2 separate regions of the Homo sapiens genome follow, and region 1 is linked to region 2. Evidence: promoter capture Hi-C in 16 types of primary human blood cells and fetal thymus (Javierre and others, 2016). All regions are on one chromosome and are shown on one strand. Each heading gives the region's core, a stretch centred on a gene start or on the middle of the fragment in contact. The rest is flanking DNA. Distances are from core to core; before and after follow the strand shown. Region 1 overlaps TLDC2 (TBC/LysM-associated domain containing 2). Region 2 holds the start of RAB5IF (RAB5 interacting factor).

What was found. Contacts are between HindIII fragments. The CHiCAGO score rates a contact against its expected background, and 5 or more counts as called.
Region 1: a contact is called between a fragment that was not itself captured here and the fragment with the promoter of RAB5IF in region 2, in 5 of 17 cell types (endothelial precursors, total B cells, total CD4 T cells and 2 more). The highest score is 7.8, in endothelial precursors.

Annotation. Positions count from the first base shown.
Region 1 is chr20:36,889,235-36,895,853 of GRCh38, reverse strand. TLDC2 (TBC/LysM-associated domain containing 2) reads right to left here. Exons shown (of 7, transcript NM_080628.3): 6 at 6,451-6,603; 7 at 1,619-2,992. The coding sequence ends at 6,468. SAMHD1 (SAM and HD domain containing deoxynucleoside triphosphate triphosphohydrolase 1) reads left to right here. Exons shown (of 16, transcript NM_015474.4): 16 at 2,788-5,625. The coding sequence ends at 2,922. Among named protein-coding and RNA genes, the nearest start is that of TLDC2, 16 kb to the right of the region's middle. The HindIII fragment of the contact is 5,127 bases long and covers 488-5,614 here.
Region 2 is chr20:36,600,490-36,607,929 of GRCh38, reverse strand. RAB5IF (RAB5 interacting factor) reads right to left here and starts at 2,151. Exons shown (of 4, transcript NM_018840.5): 1 at 1,865-2,151; 2 at 112-215. The coding sequence starts at 1,978. It overlaps TGIF2-RAB5IF (TGIF2-RAB5IF readthrough), which reads right to left. Exons shown (of 5, transcript NM_001199535.2): 3 at 112-215. RefSeq lists enhancers at 1-1,006, 2,358-2,497, 3,228-3,277 and silencers at 1,848-2,157, 2,837-3,236. The HindIII fragment of the contact is 5,705 bases long and covers 1-4,076 here.

The DNA.
Region 1 (6,619 bases), core at 1,802-4,301, 290 kb before region 2:
TTCCCCCTTCATATTTTCTATCTACAGTTGGTTGAATCTGCCCATGGATGCAGAGGGCCAACTGTATGTCTGTCCTAGGTACTGTGAAACTAAATCACTGAAACTAAATCACTGAAAACTCTAGCTGCAGATAGACTGGAACTTGGAGAGTCTGGAAATAGAGAGTCAAGAGAGGCTATTAAAGTTTGGCTGTGTCGTGATAACTACTATAAATTTGGTACATTCACTCACGGAGTGAGTATTTTGCCATGCCCTGTGTTAGGTACCTGGAACAGTACCTAAGATAGACAGTTCCTAATAACCCATGGATCCCATTCAGGTTGGGGATAATAATCTAGTTGGGGATAATAATAATTATTATTAATTTTTCTCCATAAGTTAATAATTATAGGAGCATGGTAAGTACTTTGGGTATAGGGTGAGTACACAGTCTTAGAAGAGGAAAAACAAGGAGGATTTAGCTGGTCTTGGTTGGTCAGGAAAAGCTTATTTAAAGAAGGGCTTATAAACTGAGACCTGAAGGTTGAGTGAGGAGTTGTCTGGGTTAAGGGCTGGCAGCAGGAGGTGGTGGTAGGGGAGGGGTTGAGGCATAGACACCACAGGGTTAGGTCGGAAGATGAGAAAGAACATGATGCATTTCAGGAAGGAGCATAGAGTGTGGAGGTGTCTGGGGCTTTATCAAAGTCCTGTCAGCCAAGAGCAGTAGGGAGCATTGACACTGAAGGGTTTTAAGCAGGAAAGTGACGTATTTGTTTACATTTATAAAATTCACTAGAACTGAAAGTAGAATGAGTAGAAATTAAAAAGTTGGCTATATGCTAGGCATGGTGGCTCATATCTGTAATCCTAGCACTTTGGGAGGTTGAGGTGGGAGGATTGCTTGAGCCTAGGAGTCTGAGGCTGCAATGAGCTATGATCACACCACTACACTCCAGCCTGGTTGATAGAGCAAGATGCTGTCTCAAAAAAAGAAAGAAAGAAAGCAAGCTGGGTAGAAATAGAGATGAGTTTAAAGACAAATAAATACTGTTGATTTTGAGATAGGCCTTTAAGTACAAGTATCATGACAATAGGATGACTTTTTTTTGAGACAGAGTCTTGCTCTGTTGCCCAGGCTGGAGTGCAGTGGCACAGTTTCAGCTCACTGCAACCTCCACCTCCCGGGTTGAAGTGATTCTCCTGCCTCCGCCTCCTGAGTAGCTGGGACTACAGGCACGTGCCACCATGCCCGGCTAATTTTTGTATTTTTAGTAAAGACGGGGTCTCACCATGTTGCCCAGGCTGGTCTTGAACTCCCGACCTCAAGTGATCCACCTGCTTTGGCCTCCCAAAGTGTTGGGATTACAGGCATGAACCACCACGCCTGGCCTAAATGATTGCCTTTACTGAGGTCAGGAGTTCGAGACCATCCTGGCCAACATAGTGAAACCCCATCTCTACTAAAAATACAAAAATTAGCCATGGTGATGCACACCTATAATCCCAGCTACTTGGGAGGCTGAGGCGGGAGAATCGCTTGAACCCTGGAGGTGGAGGTTGCAGTGAGCTAAAATTGTGCCACTGCACTCCAGCATGGGTGACAGAGCAAAATTCCATCTCAAAAAAAAATAATAACACATTTTTTAAAAACTATTTTTAATAGTTCTATCAAGTCAGATCCAGTGTAGTTCAACAGAAAAAATTTAACATGGGGGTGAGATACAAAAGTTTTGGCAGAGCTAAATGAGCATAGAGGACAGTGATTCAACAGCAGGAAGCTGCTACCACCTCTAGGATAGGAGAGACCAAGGGAGCAGGTGGGAGTCCAGGAGCTGGGGCCACCTGCAAAAGCTAGAACCACAGAATAGTCACTGCCACTGCCGCTCGTGCCAGAGGAGGTAGGGAGAGAAAAAACCTGACTTCTCTGCCCTCTTCTCACCTCCAGTCTCCCACCAGAGCCTCCCACTGACCAAATCTAACTGGAAACCAACAGGCATGGGAGCTGAGAAATGTAATTTACCGGAGTAGCTCCTGTGAGACAGAGTAGGGAGAGGAAGAGTGAAGAATGGATCTGAGAGCAAATAAGCAGATGAGGAGCACGAATCCTCCCACCAGCATTGTATTCCTGGTACAACAGAGGCTCTCCAAGATCGTGCATCATCTTGTAACCAAAGAAGATCTACCCACAAGTTCAGAACAGTTTAGCATAGAGTCAAGTATTAGGAGGCCTTGCTTCTTACCTCTATGGTTTCACGTCATTGTATCGCCTCCCTTTGGATCTCTCCCTTATTTTGGGTGGAGGAGCTTCTTTGGCTGGAGCCTATGCTGATGGGACCAACGTTAGAGCTTTGATGCAGAGAAAAATTTAAATTCTGCAGGTACATACTGTTCTTCCTCCCCTTCTTTGCCATCTTGTAGACCTGGGCCTTTTATTGCAGAGGGGACCAGGCGAGAGAGAAGCTAGGGGTTCAGTGCATCCCGTCTTTCTCCTGGGAAAACAGGACAGAGTTTGTGCTCCGTGAAGGTGTGTGAAGGAGGCCATAGAGGTGGGCAGTGGTATGCTGCTCCCAGTCATCTCTGCAGAGGCCAGTGGCTGTTTTCATGAAGGCTCTTCCTGCGTAAGACTGTAGTGTTTCTAATTTGCCCCAAGCACAGGGCATATGTAATTTGGAGTTTCCCTGGATTGAGGACAGCTAGAAGCAATCTATATGCAAGATGAGGATGTGCGCACTTGAGACTTTCACTCAGAAATAAGATGATGGAAACTGGCTTTTCTCTATTGCCTGTTTTTCTCTCTCTTCCTAATAGGATGGCGATGTTATAGCCCCACTCATAACACCTCAAAAAAAGGAATGGAACGACAGTACTTCAGTCCAAAATCCAACTCGCCTCCGAGAAGCATCCAAAAGCAGAGTCCAGCTTTTTAAAGATGACCCAATGTGAATGTCTGTAGTCAGTTGTTTACAAACTCCCTCTCCTGCACAATTCATTTAGAGGCTTCAATCATAGAATTCTGCAAATTAATGACAACTCATGCTTTAATTTTGTATTTTGAATGTACACGCATGCTGAAGCTAAGTAACTTTTAATCAAAGAAATAAGATGGTATTAGGCAAATCTTACTATACTATGAAAAGCATTACCTTGCCTATTTTTAATATTATTAAAGCCTTTCTCCTTCAGTAGTCTATTTTCTTAGAATAACAACTCTTTTATCTATTCTGAACTCTATTTTTTTTCTTTTTTAAGAGACAAGGTTTTGCTCTGTTGCCCAGCTTGGACTCGAACTTTCCTGGGCTCAAGCGACCCTCCTGCCTCAGCCCCCCAAGTAGCTGGGACTAAAGTCATGTGCCACCACACCCAGCTTACTCTGAACTTTTATGACAGATGATTGTTTTTTGTTTTTAATGTAGAAATGAGACAAGGGTACAAATTGGAACTAGAAATTGACATTGTCATTGACAAACATGGCTAAAAACAAAACATCAAATCCTGCCCCCGTGAAGAGTTCCCTGTCACCTCAAGTTTGAGGATAGTCCTCTAAGAGTGACCTAAGCATAAGTGAAAGACACCTCCCCTCACCCTTCTAGCCCCCTACAAGGTGCCAGGTTGGGGTAAAGAGTTGGAGATGATGGCCAGGAGTGGCCTCCAACACGCTGGTGAGAGGCCTGATTAGGTTTTGGGGAAGATCTGAGAGCTCTGGCCTCTTCGTGAGTGGAACATAAAGCCGCCTCTTGTTGGGAGATCCTACCCCAGTGACAGAGGAATCCCCCAAACTAGGCTGTGCCCTGGCTCCGTGGCGGCTCCAGACCCGGGTAGTGCCTTTGTCCCCTGAATACTCACTCCCCCGGTCCAGAGGGCCTTCCCACTGCCCAGCCTGGAGAAGGCCTCCCCTGACCTGCTCTCTCAGTATCCTGGAGAGCTGGCCAGAGGCCATCACAGGCATCATCCTCAGAGCTCCTCAGACCTGGGACTTTGTTTTTGCTGGTTCAGTGCATTTTGTGTATTTAAGAGCAAACACTAGCCAGGCGTGGCGGCGTGTGCCTGTAGTCCCAGCTACTTGGGAGGCTGAGGCAGGAGGATTGCTCGAACCTGGGAGGCGGAGGTTGCAGTGAGCCTAGATCACGCCATTGCACTCCAGCCTGGGTGACAGAGTGAGACTCCATCTCCAAAAAAAAAAGCACAAACACTGCACTGCCTGTGCTGAAATTAGTGACCACCCAGTGGGCTCCAGGCTCCGCTAGGTAACTTCGTTTTCCCAGCAGTGGAGTGGGCACCACCTTGGTGGGGCAGTGCCCCTGTGCCCAGGGCACACCTCATTCCCAGTTCTATAGCAATTCACCAAGAACAAAGTCTGCAGTTAGAGCCAAAGCTGGTGGTGGCCAGAGGGTGCTGAAGATACAGGCCAGTGGGGATGGGAGCCATGAGCCCCGAATGTCTTCTGCTCTGATGCTCCCCGGACTAAGCCTCCCTGGCACACTGGGAGTGAGGGGCAGCCTGAGCAAGTAGGGGAACTCAGACCACAGGCCAGCAGATTTCCCAGCAGTCCATCACTGGCCACCGTGTAGCCAGATTCTGTTCCGTCCACACTGGGGTGAAGAGTACTTGGAATGTCTGCCATCCTGTATGATCACCCCACCCCCTGTCCATCCATCAGTAGATAATAAGGGTTGGTTACAATTCATAAGAGAATAGTTAAAACACTTCTCCTCTCATGCCTACCATGGTGCTGTATCAAGGGGATTTGTTCACATATGGGCTCAGCAACGCACAAGTGAGGTCAGCCATGGCACTAGGTCATTCCCATTTTAGCCAAGGTGCCTCTATAGGGGTCAGACATCATGTGCCCAGACCTAAGGTCAGGAATGTCATATTTTTCTGTTAAAATCATTTTATTTCTGTGTATCTTACCTTTAAATCATTGTGGTTTACTCTGAGATTCTGTAGTCCTAATATTGTATCATTGTGCTGTCTGCAAAACAACTTGAATCTATTTTGTTTGCATCTTTTGTTACATGTAACGCAGCTGTACTTTATGTTCTTTGCAACTGTTTCCATTATGAGAACGCTGTGCTATTTACAAGGTTACATTTTTCTTGGCCAGGCGAGGTGGTCATGCCTGTAATCCCAGCACTTTGGGAGGCCAAGGTGGGCGGATCACTTGAGGTAAAGAGTTGAGACCAGCCTGGCTAGCATGGCGAAACCCAGTCTCTACTAAAAATACAAAAATTAGCCGGGTGAAATTAGCCGGGCGTGGTGGTGTGTGCTTGTAATCCCAGCTACTCGGGAGGCTGAGGCAGGAGAATCGCTTGAATCCGGGAGGCAGAGGTTGCAGTGAGCCAAGATCAGGCCACTGCACTCCAGCCTCGGGGTCAAGAGCGAAACTCTGTCTCAAACAAAAAGAAAGAAAGGAAGGAAGGAAGGAGGGAAGGAAGGAAGGAAAGAGAGAAAGAAAAGAAAGAAAGAAAGAAAGAAAGAGAAAGAAATATCTTTGCTATTTGTATAAAAATGGAAATTTTAACAGCTTAGCCTCTAGAGAGTTACTGAACGTGGTTACCTTGGGAATGTAAATAGAACTGCAAATTAAAATGACTGGCCACTTCAACTGGGTAAGGGAAACAGCTGCAATAAAGCTTCGTGAATATATATCTCCATCTTGAAAGTTGTGTTCCACAAAGGTTTCGACCTCTTTGTCCAAAAATGCATATTACTCATTTACTCCTTTCATACCTTCATTGTGAAATTAAATAACAGACTCACAAGCACCTGGCACTGGTGGCAGACAAAAAGGCCTCAACATTCTGCAGCAGGCCAGAGGAGGAACGACGCTGCTACAGTATTTATTAGTTCCAGTGCTCAAGCCCAGGTTTCTAAGGTTTGACAATATTCTGTAAGTTAAAATCATTTCCACACATACAGAGTAGAATCCTGTTTTTGTAAGTATACACACACACACACACACACATTCATGGAACATTGTCTGGAAGGATATACATGAAAATGTTAAGAGTTGGGGGGGGTTGAATTTTAGGCAATTTTAATTTTTTTAACGTCTTCTGGTTTTTCTACAATAAACATGAATCAGTTGTAGAACCTCTAAAATGATAATGTTCATGAGGTTGGTTTTCCTCGTTCAGTAGCTGGCGAGGAACAGCATAGTGAAAAATCTTCCCTTTGCCAGGAGGCAGGCACTAGCGGGGAAGAGATGTGGATTTTTCTGAGTTTTCTAAGACCCTGTTAGCTTAGGGTCTCTGTGCTGCTTGAGTAAGGTGTAAGCGTCTTTTAATCCTTCAAAGTCACCTCTGCAAAAGAGCAGTGCCTGCCCCCACCTGTATCTTGGGTCCCCAGGCCACAAGGAGGCTGGCCAGCAGCCTCGGCCAACTCTAGGGCCCTTCACCATCTGTGTTTCAAACAGCACAGGCTGCTGTGTGTCAGGAAGGCCTGGGTGGCATCATGAGCAGGGCTGAGTACCTGTTGCCGCAGGGCTGTCAGCTGAGAAGCCAAGCCTCCAGCTCCTGGATGCAGAACTGCTCCTGCCGGGCCAGCACCTCGTTGTTGAAGGTCGGGCAAGGGGAGCTTCCCCCGCGGAACAAGTCTCCATCCAACCACAGCCCAAACCGGCCACTAGAGAGAAGAGGAC
Region 2 (7,440 bases), core at 902-3,401:
ATCACACACACACACAGCTCCAGAGCAGCAATGGCCTTTCCTGTAACAGGAAAAAAAGCCTCTATTTAAAAAGAAATGATACCATGAAAATATAAGATACCCAAGACTTACCCTGCTATTCCCAAGAACCCTCGTAATGGCAAAACTCCCCAAATGACACCCAGGACCACAGCAATGATCTGTCGGAACCAGTAGATCACATCTAAAAATTCATCCTGTAGAAAAGACAGAAAATGCAAGAATTATCTGGAGTGGGTGCCACAAGACAGCAAAAGGGGAGAATATTAAACCTTTCTGCTAAACATATCCAGGAAATTTGTTTCCCCCCAAAGGCAACAGTATGTGCTTCCTGTTTCACCTCTTACTTATACTAAAATGTGGTAGAAATGATACATTTAGGGGCTGGGCGTGGTGGCTGAAGCCTGTAATCCCAGCACTTTGGGAGGCCGAGGCGGGTGGATCACCTGATGTCAGGAGTTCAAGACCAGCCCGGCCAACATGGTGAAACCCTGTCTCTACTAAAAATACAAAAAATTAGCCGGGTGTTGTGGCGGGCGCCTTTAATCCCAGCTACTTGGGAGGCTGAGGCAAGAGAATTGCTTGAACCTGGGAGGTGGAGGTTGCAGGGCAACAAGAGTGAAACTCCGTCTCAAAAAAAAAAAAAAAAAAAGATACATTTAGACATCATTAAGCGATCACTTCCAGAATCTGTGCTCTAAATCAAAATTCTAGAGGTGCATATATAATATGGCCTGTAATGAAATGACTGTGATAATAATTGTGCTACTGGCCGCACATACGGATTAGAACCATAAATGCTGGAGGCAGGTGCCACTATATTTAAGTTTAATGGAAGAACACAGACGACTCAGGTTTCTGATCTGCCCTAGATTCCAGAAACCAGTCCTTATACAAGAAAAGAAAGAAATGACACAGCAGATTAGAGACTGCAGGTTTTGCAAGAGCTGGGCAGGGCTGGGGGCAGAACAAGGGCACCTTCAGGAAGTGCCTCCCATCCCCCTTTACAGGAACTTCAGGAAGGAAAATCCACTTCGGCAGCCCAGAAAACCAAGAAATGACTGCAAATATAATACGCTTTTCAAGCTACCTGGAATCAAGCTGTTTGTGATGGCCCCTTCCAGATCATGGAGCAGAGTTACGAAGCATCCTCCGAATGGGACGAGTAAGAACGTTCTGAAGTCCCAACCAATTCTCGCACATATCTGGTGGCGTTTCTCCACCCCCACACCTCACACTCACCCAGCGGGTGGTCTCAGTCTCCCCTCTTGACTCATGCTTATCAAAGTATTCGGTCCTTTACATTCAACAAGCAACAGCAGCTCAAGATTAGCGAGCCTCACTATGTGCAAAAGGCTTTAATGTACCACAGTACCCCACTTCAGAGTTATTCTGAGTTAAACGAGATTCCGCTTGCAGAGCACCTGGCACGTAGAAAGCATTCTCAGCAGAAGTCTGTTACTGTTAATGTTTGTGCTACTTAATTCGAAAGAAACAAGTAACCTACTCAAAACCCTACTGCACATAAAAGGCGGAGGCCGAATCGAATTCAGCTCCCTTTCCCAGTTCAGGCACAAACCCTGCCCGCGAATGACAACGCCTCTCCCCGCTCCTCGCCAATTCCGCATAACTAGGGGGCTTCATCCTTAGGCCACCCTTCGGGGAGCTCCAAGCCCAGCTGTCCGCCCAGTGCCCGCCAAGTTTGCTCTGACACCCTTGGGCCACCCGCCCCACTGCCCTACTCGATTGTGCCGGAACGAGGACGAGGGCAGGCCCGCGCCAGTCTTCCGTTCCCCGAGTCCCAGCCGACTCCTCGCACCCGCGCCCTGTTCAGACTCCACCGTACCTTATCCTCCCAGGCCGCGTCGCTCCGCAGCACCTTACTCCAGACGGAGACTTTGAGGGCCCCGTTGGCCAGCTGCGGCTGAGGCGGCTCCTCCTTCCGCCGCCCGCCGCTCATCCTCCCGTCGCGCCGCCCGGGCCGGGCCTGGGGCGCGCGGGCTGAGCCAAAGGGAGTCGGGGTCTAGGGTCGCAGGTCACGGCGCGGGGCGGCTGCAGGCTCAGCGGCCCGGTCCTGCGGCGCGCTGCGGTTCCTCACAACCTGGCCAAGCTACCCGGTTCCGCCGGCTCTACAGAGCAGGCGCCGCGAAGGGAGGGGCGGTGCAGTGTCGCGCGCCCTCCCGCCGACGTGCTCACGCAGCCAATCGGCGACCGCGAAGCCATCCGAGTGAAACAGCGACCGGCGCCTTGGCGCAAGCGCGCTACTCGTGGCGGAAATGACGTCAGCATCCGCCGGGCTCGCGGTAAGGTGTGAGGGGAGGGACAATCTTGGTAGAACGGTGACATGGGCGCCAGGAGGCGCTGTGGAGACCGAGGAGGTAGGGGAAAACCGAGGCTGGACGTCAGCGTCGCCCAGTCGGCCACAGCTGCCCCTCGAGCAGCGAGTGGGGCAGGAGCGGCTCTACCTTTCCTTGCGACCTACTCGCCTGCTGAGCCCAGACCTTGCTCCAGGGTAGCTCCAAGCTGCCCCACAGGATTTAGCCCGCTTATTTTCTCCCCTAACCCTGCAAGTTCTGTAGGGCCTTGTTGAAGATGTTAACTCTTCTGTAATAACTAACCATTTCATCTTGCCCAGCACCCTCTTTTGGCACACGAGAGCCCTGAGACCCCAAAAGAGGAAATGAGATTCTGAGGCCGTATAGCAAGGTGGACCCAACCGGGGACTCCTGGGCGGCAAATACAAGGATTGGGTTAGGTATCAGGATATCTGAGTGTTCACATACAGCGTCCTCACCATGTGCTGCGTCAGTGGTTCACAAAGTGAGCTTCCGGATCAGCAGCGGCCGTATCGCCTGGGAACTGGGTAGAGGCGCAGGTTCTCGGCCCCCATTCCACGCCTACTGACTCAGAACCCCTGGGGATGGGGCTCCTTCCGGTGGCCCTCCAGGTGGTGCCAGGCTCACTGTGCTGGTAAGTCCAGAGACCAAGGCACATCCCTTCTGGACAGTGGATTTTTTTTTTTTTTTTTTTTTGAGACGGCACGGTCTCTGCTCACTGCAACCTCCACCTCCCGGGTTCAAGCGATTCTCGTGCCTCAGCCTCCCACGTAGCTGGGATCACAGGCGCCCACTACCACGCTCCACTAGTTTTTTTTGTATTTTAGTAGAGACGGGGGTTTCACTATGTTGCCCAGGCTGGTCTCGAACTCCTGAGCTCAGGCAATCCGCCCATCTTGGCCTCCCAAAGTGCTAGGATTACAGGCGTGAGCCACCTCACCCGGCCTCTGGACAGTGGATTTATAAAGACAAGTAATGTATCTGGTACCTGGGTGTGTCTGACTCCAGAATCTGTGCTCTTAACCGTTAAACTTTAAAGCTGAGAGTATCTTTTTTTTTTTTAAACAGGTCAGAGTATCTTTTGCATACCTATCAACATTCACCTGTAATTCTTCACTTTTCAGGAGTAATAGAACCTCCCTAGGGAGGCCAGGCGCAGTGGCTCACTCCCATAATCCCAGCACTTTGGAAGGCCGAGGTCGGTGGATCACTTGAGGTCAGGAGTTCGAGACCAGCCTGGCCAACATGGTTGAAAGCCCGTCTCTACTAAAAATGCAAAAAAAATTAGCCGGGCGTGGTGGTGGGGACCTGTAATCCCAGCTTCTCAGGAGGCTCGAGGCATGAGAATTGTTTGAACCTGGGAGGTGGAGGTTGCAGTGAGCCAAGATCGCGCCATTGCACTCCAGCCTGGGCAACAGAGCAAGACTTGGTCTCAAAAACAAAACAAAAAACAAACAAAAAACCTCCTAGAGAGCTTTTCCAGAATACTATAGCTGCTGTTTTCCACCCCAAGCCCACCCTGACATTGTTTCAGTAGATTAAGTGGGGCTGGACCCCCAAGGTGAAACATACTGTGATCACGTTACTGTCTGGAACTGGTGGAAGGGCCGTATACGTTATATGGGTGCACTCCTTTTGTCCTAAGTTTCCCCGTGGGTCTTGTTCTTTTCAGCCCTGCCTCTTTTCTGATCCAGTTTCCCTCCCATATGAAATGGTAAAGCTTAGCCAGTTGAAGGAAATCAAAATATTTTACCCCAAAATATGGCTCCCTAGTATAATGACTATTTTAGTTTAGTTTTTAAGACAGGGTCTCACTCTGTTGCCCGTGCTCAAATGCGGTGGCATGATCAGGGCTCACTGCAGCTTTGATCTTCTGGGCTCAAGCGATCTTCCCACCTCAACTTCCCAAGTAGCTGGAGCTGCAGGCACAGGCACATGCCACCAACCTGGCTAAGATTTTTTTTTTTTTTTTTATAGACAGAGTCTCACTCTGTCGCCCAAGCTGGAGTGCAGTGGCATGATCTCAGCTCACTGCAACCTCTGCCTCCCAGATTCAACCAGTTCTATTGACTTAGTCTCCCCAGAAGCTGGGAATACAGATGCGTACCACCACAACCTGGCTAATTTTTGTATTTTTCAGTAGAGATGGGATTTTGCCATCTTGTCCAGGCTGGTCTCAAATTCCTGACCTCAAGTGATCCGCCTGCCTCAGCCTCCCAAAGGGCTGGGATTACAGGCATGAGCCACCACACCCTGACAGGTTTGTTTTTTTTTGTTTTTGTTTTTTAATTTTCTGTAGAGACAGGGTCTCACTATGTTGCCTAGGCTGGTCTTGAACTCCTGGGCTCAAGCAGTCCTCCCACCTCGGTCTCCCAATGTGTTGGGATTACAGGCATGACCCACTGTGCCTAGCATAATGAATATCTGAACTTGAAAACCTAATCAAGGTGCTGGAAGAGACTTTTCCCGTATCTACATAAAGATATGACTGACCCACCAAGGAGAAGAGTTCTTGTTCCTCTCCCTGTTATCTCACTTTCTTTTTTTTTTGGGACGGAGTCTCGCTCTGTTGCCCAGGCTGGAGTGCAGTGGCGCGATATCGGCTGACTGGGTTCACGCCATTCTCCTGCCTCAGCCTCCCCAGTAGCTGGGACTACAGGCACCCGCCACCATGCCTGGCTAATTTTTTGTATTTTTAGTAGAGACAGGGTTTAACCGTGTTAGTCAGGACAGTCTTGATCTCCTGACCTCGTGATCCGCCCGCCTCGGCCTCCCAAAGTGATGGGATTACAGGCGTGAGCCACCACACCCAGCTATCTCGCTTTCTATTGCAGAAGAGAAGACAGTGTAACCACACCTGAACAGACCCTTTTTCAAGGTAATGACTGTCTCCAAGAATAATTTAAATTCCAAAGATAACTATTTACAGGTTAATTTCTGTTTCTGATCCATTCTTCCTAATAATCATTTGTTGTCCCTCAGTAAAATTCCTTGCTCCCCCTTCCCATAACCTGTTCTACCAGGATCCAAGCCCCCATTCTTTCTGTAACCTCAAGATGGTACAGAAGCTTCTGTACCTGGTCGGGTGCAGTGGCTCACACCTGTAATCTCAGCACTTTGGGAGGCCGAGGCGAGTGGATCACCTTAGGTTAGGAGTTCGACACCAGCCTGACCAACATGGAGAAACCCCATCTCTACTAAGATTACAAAAAATTAGCCGAACGTAGTGGCATGTGCCTGTAATTCCAGCTATTCAGGAGGCTGAGGCAGGAGAATTGCTTGAACCTGGGAGACGGAGGTTGCAGTGAGCCGAGATCGTGCCATTGCACTCCAGCTTGGGCAACAAGAGCGAAACTCCATCTAAAAAAAAAAAAAAGAAGCTTCTGTACCTTATTGGGGAGTTGGGGAGCTGGGTCTTCATTCTGAAGACTCCTGTGTATACACGTTAAATCAAATTGTATGCCTTTTTTCCTGGTAATCAATCTGCCTCATATCACTGATTTTCAGGGAAACTTCAGAGGGCCAAGAGCTTCCAAACTGACTGGTTTGGAAGTGTACCATTGTTACAAAACCTCTTTTACAGACTCCCTGCTGGCATGTAGTTCAGAAGACAAACTAATGAATCTGTCACAGAATGTTGGAAGAATGACTAGCCCTTGGCCTAAAGGTAAGTTTTCACTCTGCCAGGTCTCCCCCTGGTGAAGATGTATAATGGGGAACCTGATCTGGGGGGATTAGGGAAGGGTAAACTCTGAAGGAAGACATTAGAAGGAAAAGAGGGAGGTGAAGGTGGGAGATAACATTTAGGGAAATGAAACCATGTGGGCTAATGGTAAGGAATGAAGCCACCAGAGGGGAAGCACGGGAGAATCATGCTGAAGAGTTTGCTTCTTATCCAGGGGTAGGGGAAGCCATCAGGTTTGCATCTTAGAAGGATCATGCTTGCTGCTATTTGGGGGACTGGATCAGAATGGGGGACTAGTTAAAAGGCTGTTAAAGTCATTTAGGTGAGAGTTGGTGAGGGCACTGAAGATGCAGAAAACTGGATTCAACAGTTCTTTTTTTTTTTTTTTTTTTTTTGAGACGGAGTCTCATTCTTGTTGCCCAAGCTGGAGTACAGTGGCATGATCTCAGCTCACTGCAACCTCCACCTCCCGGGTTCAAGCGAGTCTCCTGCCTTAGCCTCCCGAGTAGCTGGAATTACAGGCGCCCGCCACCACGCCTGGCTAATTTTTTTTGTATTTTTAGTAGAGACAGGGTTTCACCATGTTTGGCCAGGCTGGTCTCGAACCCCTGACCTCAGGTGATCCACCCACCTCGGCCCCACAAAGTGCTGGGATTACAGGCGTGAGCCACCATGCCCAGCCCGTTCTTTTTTAAATTAAACATATTACTTATTTATTTATTTTGGAGACAGAGTCTCGCTCTGTCGCCCAGGCTGGAGTGCAGCGACACCATCTCAGCTCACTGCAGCCTCTGCCTCCCAGGTTCAAGTGATTCTCGTGCCTCAGCCTCTGGAGTAGATGGGATTACAGGTGTGCGCCACCACACCTGGCTAATTTTTTGTATTTTAGTAGACATGGGGTTTCACTGTGTTACCCAGGGTGGTCTTGAACTACTGAGCTCAGGCAATCTGCCTGCCTCAGCCTTCCAAAGTGCTGGGATTACAGGTGTGAGCCACCACACCCAACCAAATTAAAAATATTTTTAAGGGCCTGGCATGGTGGTTCATGCCTGTAATCCCAGCACTTTGGGAGGCCAAGACAGGAGGATCACTTGAGCCCAGGAGCTCAAGACTAGCCTGGGCTACACAGGGAGACCCCGTCTCCACAAAAAAAAAAAGAAAGAAAAAAACAATTAGCCAGGCATGGTGGTGCACACCTGTAGTCCCAGCTATTTGAAGGCTGAGGTGGGAGGCTTGCTTAAGCCCAGAAGGTAGAGGCAGCAGTGAGCTGTGATCATCACACCACTGCACTCCAGCCTGGGTGACAGAGTGAGAGACTCTCTCAAAAAAAAAAATTGTTTTTTAAATTTTAGTAAAATATATCTAACAAAGTTTATCATTTCAACACTTATTAAGTGTACA